2 separate regions of the Homo sapiens genome follow, and region 2 is linked to region 1. Evidence: promoter capture Hi-C in human tissues and cell types (Jung and others, 2019). All regions are on one chromosome and are shown on one strand. The core of a region is centred on a gene start or on the middle of the fragment in contact, and the rest is flanking DNA. Distances in the headings are between cores, read along the strand shown.

Region 1 (6,003 bases), core at 3,284-5,783:
TCATTATGCACATGGTAGTATGCCTAACGGTATCTCACAGATCTCAGACTCTGTTCATTTTTCTTCATTCTTTTCTTGCCTCTGTTCTTCAGTCTGGATAATGTGAATTGACCTATCTTCAGGTTTGTTGATACTTTCTTCTGCCAGCTCAGATCTGGTGTTGAGTCTCTCTAGTGATGTTTTCATTTGAGTTCTTGCATTTTTTAACTCCAGAATTTCTACTTGATTCTTTTTTAAATGTTTAATTTCTTTAAAGATTTCTATTTCATTCCCACACTTTCTCTTAGTTCTTTAGATATGGTTTCCTTTAGTTCTTTGAACATATTTAAATAACTGTTTTGAAGTCTTTGCCTAGTATGTCCAATAGCCAGTATTCCTCAGAGACAGTTCCTTTTTACTGTTTTCCCCATGTGTGAACCATACTTTCTTGCCGTGTCTCATAACTTTGTTAAAGACTGGACATATAAAATAATATAATGGACAACTCCAAAAATGAGATTCTCTCCCCTTAGCAGGGTTTGTTTTGTTGCTGTTTGTTTGGTCACTTTAAACTAATTCTGTAAAATCTGTAGTCTTGGTCAGGTGTGGCAGTGAAATCTCTGATTGGTTAGCTCAGTTGTCAGCCAATAATTGGTCAGAGATTTCCTTAGATGCATTGAACCACTATGTGTCCTAGCCTTTGCTACCTTTGGGAAAGGGGGTCTGTATGCATGCTGAAGCATACCTCCTACATGCAGGCAGGCAGTTTACAACCCTATCTTAGTATTTACTTTCTGCCAGCACAGTGTTTCAAAGACAAACAAGGATGAGGACTGAGAGCTTCTTAGGTCTTTCCTGGTGTCTCCTATTGCTGCTGTAACAAACTCACCATAAGTGCAGTGGCTTAAACAACACACATTTATTGACTTATAGTTCTGGAGGTCTACTCTAAAATCAAAGTGTGAACCTGGAGGACATTACGCTAAGTGAAACAGAGATGCAAATCCTGTATAATCTCACTTAAACTGCACGTGGAATCTAACACAGAGTAGAACAATAGTTGCCAGAGGCTGGTGGGGAGGGCAAGGAAGGAAATAGGTAGTTGGTCAAACGGTGCAAAGTTTCAGATAGACAGGAGGAATGTTTTGAGATCTACTGCACAGTAGGTTAACTATACTCAGTAATAATGTATTGTGTATCTCAAAATAAGAGTAAATTTCAAATGTTTCACCAGAAAAAAATAAGTGAGGTGATAGATATGTTAATTATTAGCCAGGTTTAATCATTCCACATTGTATACATATATCAGAACATCACACTGTACCCCATAAATGTATATAATTAAGATTTGTCAATTAAAAATAATGTTAATTAAAACAAAGGTGTTAGTAGGGCTACATTCATTCTGGAAGCTTCAGGGAAGAATCCACCCCCTTACCTTTTTTTCCAGCATCTAGAACCACCTTAATTCCTTGGCTAATGGCCCCTTCCTCACATCACTCCATCCTCTTCCTTCCATCATCACATCTCCTACTTCTGACTCTGATCTTCCTGCGACTCTCTTATAAGGACCTTTGTGATTACACCAGGTCCACTCAGATAATTAAGGTATTTAATTTATCTTAATCACACCTGCAAAGTCCCTTTTACGATGCAAGATTACACAGTCACAGGTGAAAATAGTTATTATTGAAGGGTTATTTCAGGCAGCCAAGGAACATAAAATTCAGGTCATCAGAGGGAAGGTCCTTAGAAACAAAACAGAAGACAGAGCCTTATGCTGGTACAAAACCAGCATCACACTAATGTGATACTGTTAAAGATACTTCAAAAAAGTCATAATTCAGCAACTACAATGATCAAGAGAACAGATGGTAACAAGAAGGAAATGACATTGGAGAGGAGGATAGAGATTTGCGGTCTTCAGTTTTGAAAGGCAATAGCTAAGAGGGGTTATGAACAAATAATATACAAATATTAAAAAGTATGGAAAATGTGTTAACTTTTCATAATGAGTGAGGAATTTATGAGATTCCACGCCCTGAGGATATTGTAAAATAAAATACAATATAAAATAGTTTTAAAACTTCAGAGATATTTACTCCAAAGTAATTTAAAGACACTGTGATGGACTGAATTGTGTTCCCTCAAAATTCCTATGTAGAAGGCCTGATCCCCAAATAACTCTATCTGGAGATGGGGTCTTTATGTTAAATGAGGTCATTAAGGTGGGGACCTAATTTGATAGAACTAGTGTTCCTATAAGAAGAGATGCCAGAGATCTCTTTCTCTCCTCTTGTAACAGAGAAAAGACTATGTGAGGACACAGTGAGAAGGTGGCTGCCTACAGGCCAGGAAAAGAGGCCTCACCAGAAACCAACCCTAAGGGCAACTTGATCTTGAACTTCTAGCTTCTAGAACTGTGAGAAAATAAACTTTTGTTGTTTTAGCCACCAAGTCTGTAGCATTTTGTTATAGAAGCCCTAGCTGACAGGAACTTTAGATATTTTGGTAGACATCTCTAGTATCATGAGATTGCCACCAGGAAAATTCTCTCTTCTCAAGAAAATACTAGTTGGTTTCAGTGTTAAAGTCAGTAGGAATATTCGTTCATTTAATCATATGACAAATATTCAAGTTCGGTGTTAGGCTGTAGAATTTGTGTGTATAGGTATGTGCGTGTGGTATGCTGGGGGAAGTACAAAAATGGATAACATGTAAACTCCTAAACATTATCACAATATAGCATGCAGTAATGCTGCATTGTTTTGTTTTGTTTTTTTAAAAAAGCCCAAACACACGTGAAGAATTCTACCTAACTATGCTGAGGTAGATTCTCAACAATGAGGCTCTGCTTTCCCTACTAAAGTGGTAAGACAGTATACACCATGGTTCTCAATCTCAGCACTACTAACTTTTGGACCAGATGATTTTTGTTATGGGTGGCTGTTCTCTGGCCTGTATCCATTAGATGCTAGCAGCCCCTCAACACCCCCCTGCTCCCCACTCTGACAGCCAAAAATGTCTCCAAACATTGCTAGATATCCTCTAGGGGATTGATAAAATATCTGAAAGAGCTCCACAGGTGATCTGATCCAACCCCTGAGAAGGCAAACATCACAAAAGTGTGCATCAATAACAACATTAGGCAACTCGCAAGAAATGCAGATCAGAAGACAGAACATTGCTACAAGAATTTAGAGAAATGATGGAGAAAGCCAGCAACATGGTGTCACACATTTTTTTGAGCATAGTACTTAAAAATACTTTACGTATTATGTATATTTATATATTTTACATTTTTTCCTGAGATACTTGGGACAGAGTTAGAATAATAAAGAGAATTATAGAGGATGTGTGAGAAAATTTGCCGTAGGTGGAATTTCCTGAAGGTCTACGAGTAAAGACACTGTATTTCCTTAAAGGAGGAAAAAGATGGAACCTCTCCTCAGCTCATGACAGCCTTCCTTCAGGTTTATATTGATCCACAAATTATTTAGTAAGTGCATACTACGTTCCAGGCACTACACAACAGGCATAGTTCTTGGTGCTGGGAATACAATAAAGAATAAAATTTCCAATACTTTCTGCCCTCATGGAGCTTACATTCTCATGGGGGTGCGAGGGAGGGTGAGGGGTGTGAGGAGAAACATAAACAATAGAAATAAAGTATGTAATATAATATATGGTACTAAGTGCTATGGGGAAAAATAAAACCAGAAACAGGGACTGGGTGTGCCGCGTAAGGCGATTCATTTTAGGGAGATCATGGAAAGTCTCGCTGAGCTGATAACATCTGAACAAAGATACCTTGTCCTCACCACCTAGAAAGCGGTCCTAAGCCGATCACTGGAAACACCTCTGCCTCCGACCATCCCATATTGTCTTTCTCCTTGTGTTCCCAGCGCCGGTACAGTAACAGAGCTGCCACCAATTACTGAGCACAGAGTCCCCCTCCAATCAAGCACTGTGCCAGGGGCTCCCCAGACATAACGTTAGTCCAAAGCTCGGGAGGTGCATGTTACTATTCCCAATTTTTAGAGAAGAAAGTGAGTCGCCGACAGCATATGTTCTTATCACGCGGCTAGGAAGCGGCAGAGCCGGGTTCCCACCCAGGTCTTCCTCGACTCCGAAACCACATGGAGGCGGCTCTGCAAAAGCTGTTAAACGCACAAGCCAACAAAGAGCAACGCCCAGCGCGTGCCAGGCCCCGAGCAGGGGAGGCGAACGCCGCGCCTCCCGCCGGCGCTGCAGAGGGCACCTGTTCAGCCAGGGCCTGCAGCCCCTCGCCTGCCGCCAGAGCAGCTCTCGGTTCTCCCGGATTTACCTGTTGAGGCGCTGGCGTCGCTCCCACGCCGGTCCCGGTGGCCGCGCCCGCCCCTGCCACAGCCCCGGCTACCGCGGTGGCCGCAGCCGCTACCACAACCGTCGTCAGTGCGGCCATGTTTACCCGCCGAGCTACTCGGGCCGCGGCGGCCACCGGTGCCTGGGGATTCGTGGCAGGCGCACCCTGGCCTCTGCAGACAGCTCCCTGCGCTGCGGGCTTGGCCGGGATGCAGGGCGGGGCCGAGATGTAGGGCGGGGTCGGGATGCAGGGCGGGGCTGAGATGCGGGGGTGCAGGGGTGCGGGGGTGCGGGAGGGGCGGGACTGGGGTGCAGGGCGGGGCCGAAATGCGAGGCGGGGGCCGGGATTCAGGCGGGGAGGGGCGGGGCGAGGGAGGGGCAAGGTGCCGGGCGGAGCCGGGATGCAGGGGAGGGGCGGGTCTGGGGTTCTGGGGCGGGCGGGTGTGGGGGCGGGGCGGGGCGGGGCGGGGGCTGCGCTCTGCCCTGTCGCGGGTTTATATACCCTTTGGGCACTTAACCGACTGTGCCAGCCCAGTCCCATACCTGTCAAGAAAATTCATTGTCTTACATCGTCCTTAAATTTTATTCGTGTTATAGTCAATATATACATATTTTTACCTAATATACATCCGCTTTCTAGGTTTCTACTTAGCGCTGCTGAGACTGAGTCTAAATGAAAAAACATTATCAATGGATTCTAACAATAAATCATATTTTAGATTTTTAAAGAAAAAAACCCAGCTTGCTCCACAGAACCAGATATCAGAGGCAGGAATGCCACAGTTACATTCCTAGGACTTGGTCAATGAGAAGACAGATTCCAAAAATACAGTGCTGGGAAGTTGGAAAAAAGCCACAGATGACGCTTCCAGTCAAGACAACCTGTGGCAACTGAGCTGATTTCTGTAGGTACTACCTTTTCCCCCTTTATAGAAATCGATTCATTCAGTCAGTCAATATGGAGCTCCTAGCATATGTCAGGCACTGTTCTAGGCCTTGGGAATTCATTGTTGAATTAGACACATAGGTAAGGTTCCTTCACCTTTAACAAGTAAACAAATAGGTATTTATTGAGCAATTCCTTTATGCCAGGGCTGTTATAAGTGCTTTATATGCACTTTTGCATTTAATCTTCACAAATAACTTCATGAAGTAGGTACTATTATCATCTCCATTTCAGTGATAAAGTTAAGGATCACATGGCCACACAGGTAGAGGGTAGGATACCTATCTAGACAGCCTGACTCCAGAGACCATCCTGGTAGAGGTATTAAACAGGCAGCGGGATAAACGCCTCTGGAGCCCAGGAGAGAGAGAGCTAAAGATACGAATTTGATCTTCCTATAGAAAATATTTGAAATAAGACTGAATGAGCTCACCCAGGGTGAGTATAAATTGAAGTCTGAGAACTAAGCCTAGGCCACTCCGAGAAGGTGACCACGGACAAGAGGAGAAGGGGACCAATATGGAGAGATCTGTGAGAAGGGAGGAAAACCGGAAGTCTGTGGAGGGAAGTTTTTGCAGAAGAGGCCGGACGTGGTGGCTTACGCCTGTAATCCCAGCACTTTGGGAGGCCGAGGTGGGCGGATCACGAGGTCAGGAGATGGAGACCATCCTGGCCAACATGGTGAAACCCCATCTCTACTAAAAATACAAAAATTAGCTGGGCGTGGTGGCGCC
Region 2 (6,057 bases), core at 2,154-4,653, 200 kb after region 1:
GTCATCAGAAATATCTCTGCCTCTTCTGTCTCCCAAAGTGCCTCTAGAGCCACAGCAAATCTCAACTCAGATTCTAGAACACCTCCTCCCATTGGCAAAGGAGGACCAAAGCTGTCTAATTTTAGGGTCTAACAGTTGGCATGCAATTAAAACTATATTTATTATGGGCCTCAGAGGAGAATAATTTATTTATGGGTAAATTAGAATCATTGCAATATAAACATGCTCCCACGGATCAGGAATTTGCTATGCTCAACCAGGGACCATAAGAACTCTGCCACTTTTACAATATGGAGCTCATTGTTTCAAAACAAGCAAAAGATCAGACATCTCTAATCCATATTTTAACATCAGTCTCAAATGCTACAGTAGGGATTCGGTCAATACTATCCATATTTTACCATTGGTCATGATTTGAGGTATTTGATCTTAAGAAACTAAGGGCAAAAAAAAAAAAAAAAGAAAGAGAGAAAGAAAAGAAAATGTTCTTCTTCCTGAAAAGAAATTATATTGGTATTAAAGTTCAGACTAAGGGTATTTTTGGTTTCATTTGGTTTTGGCTTTGAAAACTTTGCTGACCAGAGATTTAGATTGGGATAAATGAGTTTAATTATGCTGGTTTATTTTGTGTCATGAATTTGCTAAAATAAACTAAAGGAAAACATACCTTATATTTAAACAAGGAAAAACAGAAAAATAAATAAGATTTCTCTCCTGAGAAGAGGGTTACTATAATACTTCTGTCTGCCAATTCAGTATCACTGTTAATTTTCTCTTTAGGAGTTTTCCATCCTTATGAGAGCATGTCCCCACCTCCTACAGTGCAGCTTTATAAAAAGATATAAAGCATATAGAAAACACACAAAAGCATGTGTTGCTCCCAACTCTTCAAAACTATATCACAATGTTCTATGTGAGGTAAGTTATTTTTTTTTCTTCAACTTATTTTTGTGTTCTGCTGTAGAAAAAAAGTCTAAAACACACAGCTAGGATTTAGTTGTGTAGCTCTGTTATTTGACCTATTTTTCCAAGATTGAGGACTTCAAATTTTTGTAACCTGTGACTATGTTCTCTGGGTTATGTATTTATGCTCCTTTTCCTGACCCCCACCCCTCACCGCACTATCATGAATTGGCCCTGGCATAAGTACTTACACACGATCTCTAACTATACTCTTTTGTGGTCAAACCCATTCCACAGAAAGAGAAATGAAGAGCTGAAAATTATCCCTGAGCACCTCTCCTAAATGAGGACACAGTCACCCTCCCCTTGGATCAGTCTTCAGTAAAGCACCTATTGGTTTTTCATGGAAACATTCATTACTACATAAAATAATATTATTTATTTATTCATTTACTTGTTACTGTCTGTCTCCTCTCACTGGAACATGCATTGTATGAACTTAGGAAACTTGTTTTTCTAATTCATTCCTATATTCCCAGTCCCCAGAAGAGAGCCTGGCACATAATAGGGATTCAGTAAATGTTTGCTGAAGGAATGAATTTCCCATCGACTTTGGGAGTGCAAACAGTGGATCTATTAAGCAAATCCTTAAAGGTATCACTCAAGGATTTTTAGAATCATCTAGATAGAAGGAATCCCTTAGGTCATTCAGAGTTGGCAAACTTATTTTGTTAAAGAACCAGACAGTAAATATTTTCAGCTTTATAGGCCATATGGTCACTGCCTTGACTACTCAAGTCTGTCACTGCAGCATTACAGCAGCCATAGACATTATGTAAATGAATAAGCAAGACCGTATCCCAACGAAACTTTATTACAAAAATAGCCAGTGGTGGAGTGAAGCTTGCTGACCCCTCCTAGACCAATGGTTTCCCAATAATTTTCTATGAATGAGTTTTACCAAGGACAATAAAAAGAAGACATAAGGATTTACTGTGAGATTTTTCATCAAGTAAGATTATTTCAACTTGAAAATTATTTTTTTCTGAGTGTATGTTCTTTCCATCTTTTAGTCTTCGAAACATTTCTTTAGCTAAGTTATAGTGATAATAAATTGTGTATTGTTAAAATCCTTTCTTGGAAAAACAAAATGTTGGCAACTTTAACAAAGTTCCAAAATATTTTGTTGAAATTTTACTATCCAACAAATTCAAACGTCTGCCAACTCCCATGGCTCTAGTCCATACATCTTATTCTACAGTCCAGTTCTTATTTGCAGTCAAGTGAGTCCTTTCTGTCTAGGGTAAACAAAGGGGTTCATGAAAAGATCTGAGAAGCTTATAGAATCTGGGAGGACCAGAGACCTGAGCCCTAGGAGAAAGCCACCCCACACCACATGACTGTTTTGGCAGAACACACACTCCTGCTGTCTGTGGCACTGCATCTACATTGATAAGGGCTGATGCCAGAAACGCTGCCTCGGCTGCCCCCAAAGAACAGATGGCTCTAGCACCATGCCTGTCAAAAGAACTGTTTCCCATCCCACTCCTGTGCCCAGCCAATGCCTTACTATACTCCACCTCCGAGTCTCACAAAGAACCATCACCTTAGCTGAAGCAAGGTCACATGCAGAACCCCCACTTCAAGGGATGTGGAAAAATGAATGTTTAGCTCTCTACCCTCTTTGAACTGGAAGCCAAGCTAAAAGATGGCTGGAATGGGTGCTAAGCAAAACAGTTTATAGCATCTTCCAAGAGAATCCTGAGGCCTAGAGCCCTTCACCTTCAAGGGAGGGGAGTTTCAGCCCAACGATGGCTAAACTACATTTTTGGGAGGAAAAAGTAGCATTTGGAAAGGTTGTCTAGTGATTGACACAACGGGAACATTTTTAGCCCATTAGTGAAAGCCACAAAAGTAGAAAAGTGAAGAGCTTCCAGATAACTCAGATCTCAAAACAACTTTGCCTGATCACCAAAGCAAAAGGTAAGAAACACACAAAGAAAACCTTCTCAATCATTCAAATAATTGCTTTAGTGGGGTTTTTTGTTTTGTTTTGTTTTTCACTTACGGCACATCCTCAAACCCTGAAGTTCAATAGGGTAGGGTTGGGGTTGCTTCTCCTGAGTGATGAACCTTAGCTTCTGCAGGCACCTTTCGAATTTAAACAGTAATGTCAATGAAGCCACTCACCCCTGAATCCAGAGAGGATTCTCTTTAAATAAAATAAATATGAGAAATAACATTAGCTTCTTTGTATCTATTAACACATAATTGCAGTGAGATAAGAGCTAGAAACAATACAATTATACCAGAAACATTCCACTTACAAAAACAGTTGTTTACTGTGATTTTCCAGTAATCAGAGACTAAACACATCAAAATTTTAGTAGTGGTTATATGTGAATAGTGAAATTACAATGACATTCATTTTTGTAAAATATTTTAAAAAACCGTTTATACTAAGTATATAGTCCCTTTTTAAAAGAAAGCAATTTACTTTCAAACAATATGTTAATGTATAGATATAATGCATTTATTATTTTTACCCCTTCACCAAATAATTATAGTTCTTTAAGCGCAGGATGTTATCTAAAACATATAAGCCTAACAGTTATTTGTGATATTATCCCTTTCTCAAGCAGTTTATAATTAAATGATCAAAATTTAATAACAAATGATATCATCACAAATACTATAAAAGCGTAAGTATTCTTATAAATACTAGAAACTTCATTTTTGAGGAGAAAATGTGAATGCTGGTATGCACATGTAATTCTTGGAGGTACAAAGTTTATGATTCTGTGAGGGGATGAGGGGCTTGGGAAAGAGATGAAAGAACATTGCACTACAGAGGAGGAAAAAAAAGATTTGCACACAGAGTGGTTCATGTCTGCTGAGAATCTCTGTTCAGTGGTGTCCTCAATTTCTTACTAGAGCCCAGTGGCCAAAAATATCATTTGTGCAGATTTGTGTAACCAGTCCTCCTCAGGATTAAAAATACATTTTTAAAAGTTATAGCTACTGAATTTTCTAATGAAACAAATCAGGACAAAAGATGTTATGTCCTAGTCTGTGCAAACAGCAGATGTCTTAGCCCATTAGGGCTGCCATAACAAAAACATCATAGACTAGAGGGCTTAAACAAAAGAAATGTATTTCTCAGAGTTCTGGAGGCTGGGAAGTCCAAGATCAAGGTGCCACTATATCTGGTATCTGGTTAGGGCCCACTTCCTTGTTTTTAGATGTGTCTTCTCACTGTGTCCTCACATGGCAGAAGGGGTGAGGGAGCTCTCTAGGGTCTTTTTTATCAGGGCACTAATCCCATTCATGAGGGCTCCACCTCATGACCCACTCATCTCTCAAAGGTCCCACCTCCAAATACCACCACATTGGGGATTTGATTTCAATAAATGGATTTTGGGGGGACATATGTAATCCACAATAGAAAGCTAAAATAAAAAAGAAATAGAAAGCTAAAAATACTCGAGATTTGCCAGCCATGTTCTGAATAAGCTAATCCCCTCCAGAATATTATTTATTCAGTTTTTCACTTCTTAAAGTAGAAAGCAAAGCTTTAAAGAGGTTGGGCCATGCCCCGTATTAATCTTTTTTGTTTTAACTAACACATAATAATTATATGTATTTATGAGGTATAAAGTGATGTCTCAAAATATATATACATTACATAATGATCAAATCATCATGTAGCACATCCATCACCTCAAACATTTATCATTTCTATGTGATGGGAACATTCAAAATCCTCTAAGTATTTTAAGATATACCTTAGTGTTTACTATAATCACCCTACTGTGCAATAGGATACCTAACTTATTCTTTCTAATTTTAACTTTGCACCTACTGGGCAACCTCTCTCCAATCCTTCCCTTCTCAGCCTCTGTTAACCCCTATTCTATTCACTATTTCTATGAGATCAACTTTTTAAGATCCAAAATATGAGTAAGAACATGTAGCATTTATATTTCTGTGTCTGACTTATTTCATGTAACATTATGTCCTCCAGGTTTACCCATGTTGTCACAAATGACAGGATTTCATTTTTTTTAATGGCCAAATAGTATTCTGTTGTGTGCAAGTACTACATTTTCTTTATCCATTCATCTGTTTTTGAACATTTAGGTTGATTCCATATTTTGGCTATTGTGAATAGTGCTGCAATAAACATGAGAGTGAGGCATCTCTTTGACATACTGATTTTATTTCCTTTGGATATATACCCAGCAGCAGGATTGCTGGATCATATGGTAGTTCTATTTTTAATTTTTTGAGGGACCTCCATATTGTTTTCCACAGTGGCTATACTAGTTTACATTCCCACCAACTGTGTGTGAGGGTTTACTTTTCTTCATATCCTTGCCAACACTTGTATCTTTTGTCTTTTTGATAATAGCCATTCTAACTATAGTGAAGTGGTATCTCATTGTGGTTTTGATTTGCATTTCCCTGATGATTAGTGATGTTGAGCATTTTTTTCATATGCATATTGGCCCTTTGCATGCCTTCTTTTGAGAAATGTCTATTCAGGTCTTTTGCTCATTTTTAATTGGATTATTTGGGACTTTTGGGGGTGGGTTTGTTGCTACTGAGTTCCTTATATATCCTGACTATTGACTCCTTTTCAGATGTATAGTTTGCAGATATTTTCTCCTATTCTGTAGGTTCTCTTCACTCTGCTGATTGTTTCCTTTGCTGTGCAGAAACTTTTCAGTGTGATATACTCCCATTTGTCTAATTTTTTGCTGTTGCTTTTGGTCTTATCCAAAAAAAAGTAATTGCCCAGTCTAGTGTCATGAAGCATTTCCCATGTGTTTTCTTCCAGGAGTTTTATAGTTTTGGGTCTTACATTTGTCTTTAACCCATTTTGAGTTGAATTTTCTATATGGTGAAAGACAGGGGTCCAGATTCATTCTTCTGCATGTGGATATCCAATTTTCTGAGCATCATTTATTGAAGAGACTGTCCTTTCTCCATTGCGTGTTCTTGACATCTTTGTTGAAAATCAGTAGATTTTCTTGGCTGTAGATGCATGGATTTATTTCTGGACTTTCTATTCTGTAATCCTCTTTCTTTGGACTAACTTGAATATTCTCTTGTGGCCAATTTCCCATCAGAGATTTTTAAAGAGCAGCATCT

What was found. The method cuts DNA at HindIII sites, captures the fragments that hold promoters and counts their contacts. A contact is called where the count stands out against the background at its distance.
Region 2: a fragment that was not itself captured here is called in contact with the fragment with the promoter of CCDC112 in region 1 in 1 of the 25 tissues and cell types used here (H1 embryonic stem cells).

Annotation. Positions count from the first base shown.
Region 1 is chr5:115,292,121-115,298,123 of GRCh38, forward strand. It overlaps CCDC112 (coiled-coil domain containing 112), which reads right to left and starts at 4,534. Exons shown (of 10, transcript NM_001040440.3): 1 at 4,307-4,534. The coding sequence starts at 4,423. It overlaps LOC105379129 (a long non-coding RNA gene), which reads left to right and starts at 4,808. Exons shown (of 5, transcript XR_948684.3): 1 at 4,808-5,228. RefSeq lists a silencer at 4,183-4,632. The HindIII fragment of the contact is 13,864 bases long and covers 1-6,003 here.
Region 2 is chr5:115,495,032-115,501,088 of GRCh38, forward strand. No RefSeq gene overlaps it. Among named protein-coding and RNA genes, the nearest start is that of FEM1C, 47 kb to the right of the region's middle. The HindIII fragment of the contact is 5,940 bases long and covers 434-6,057 here.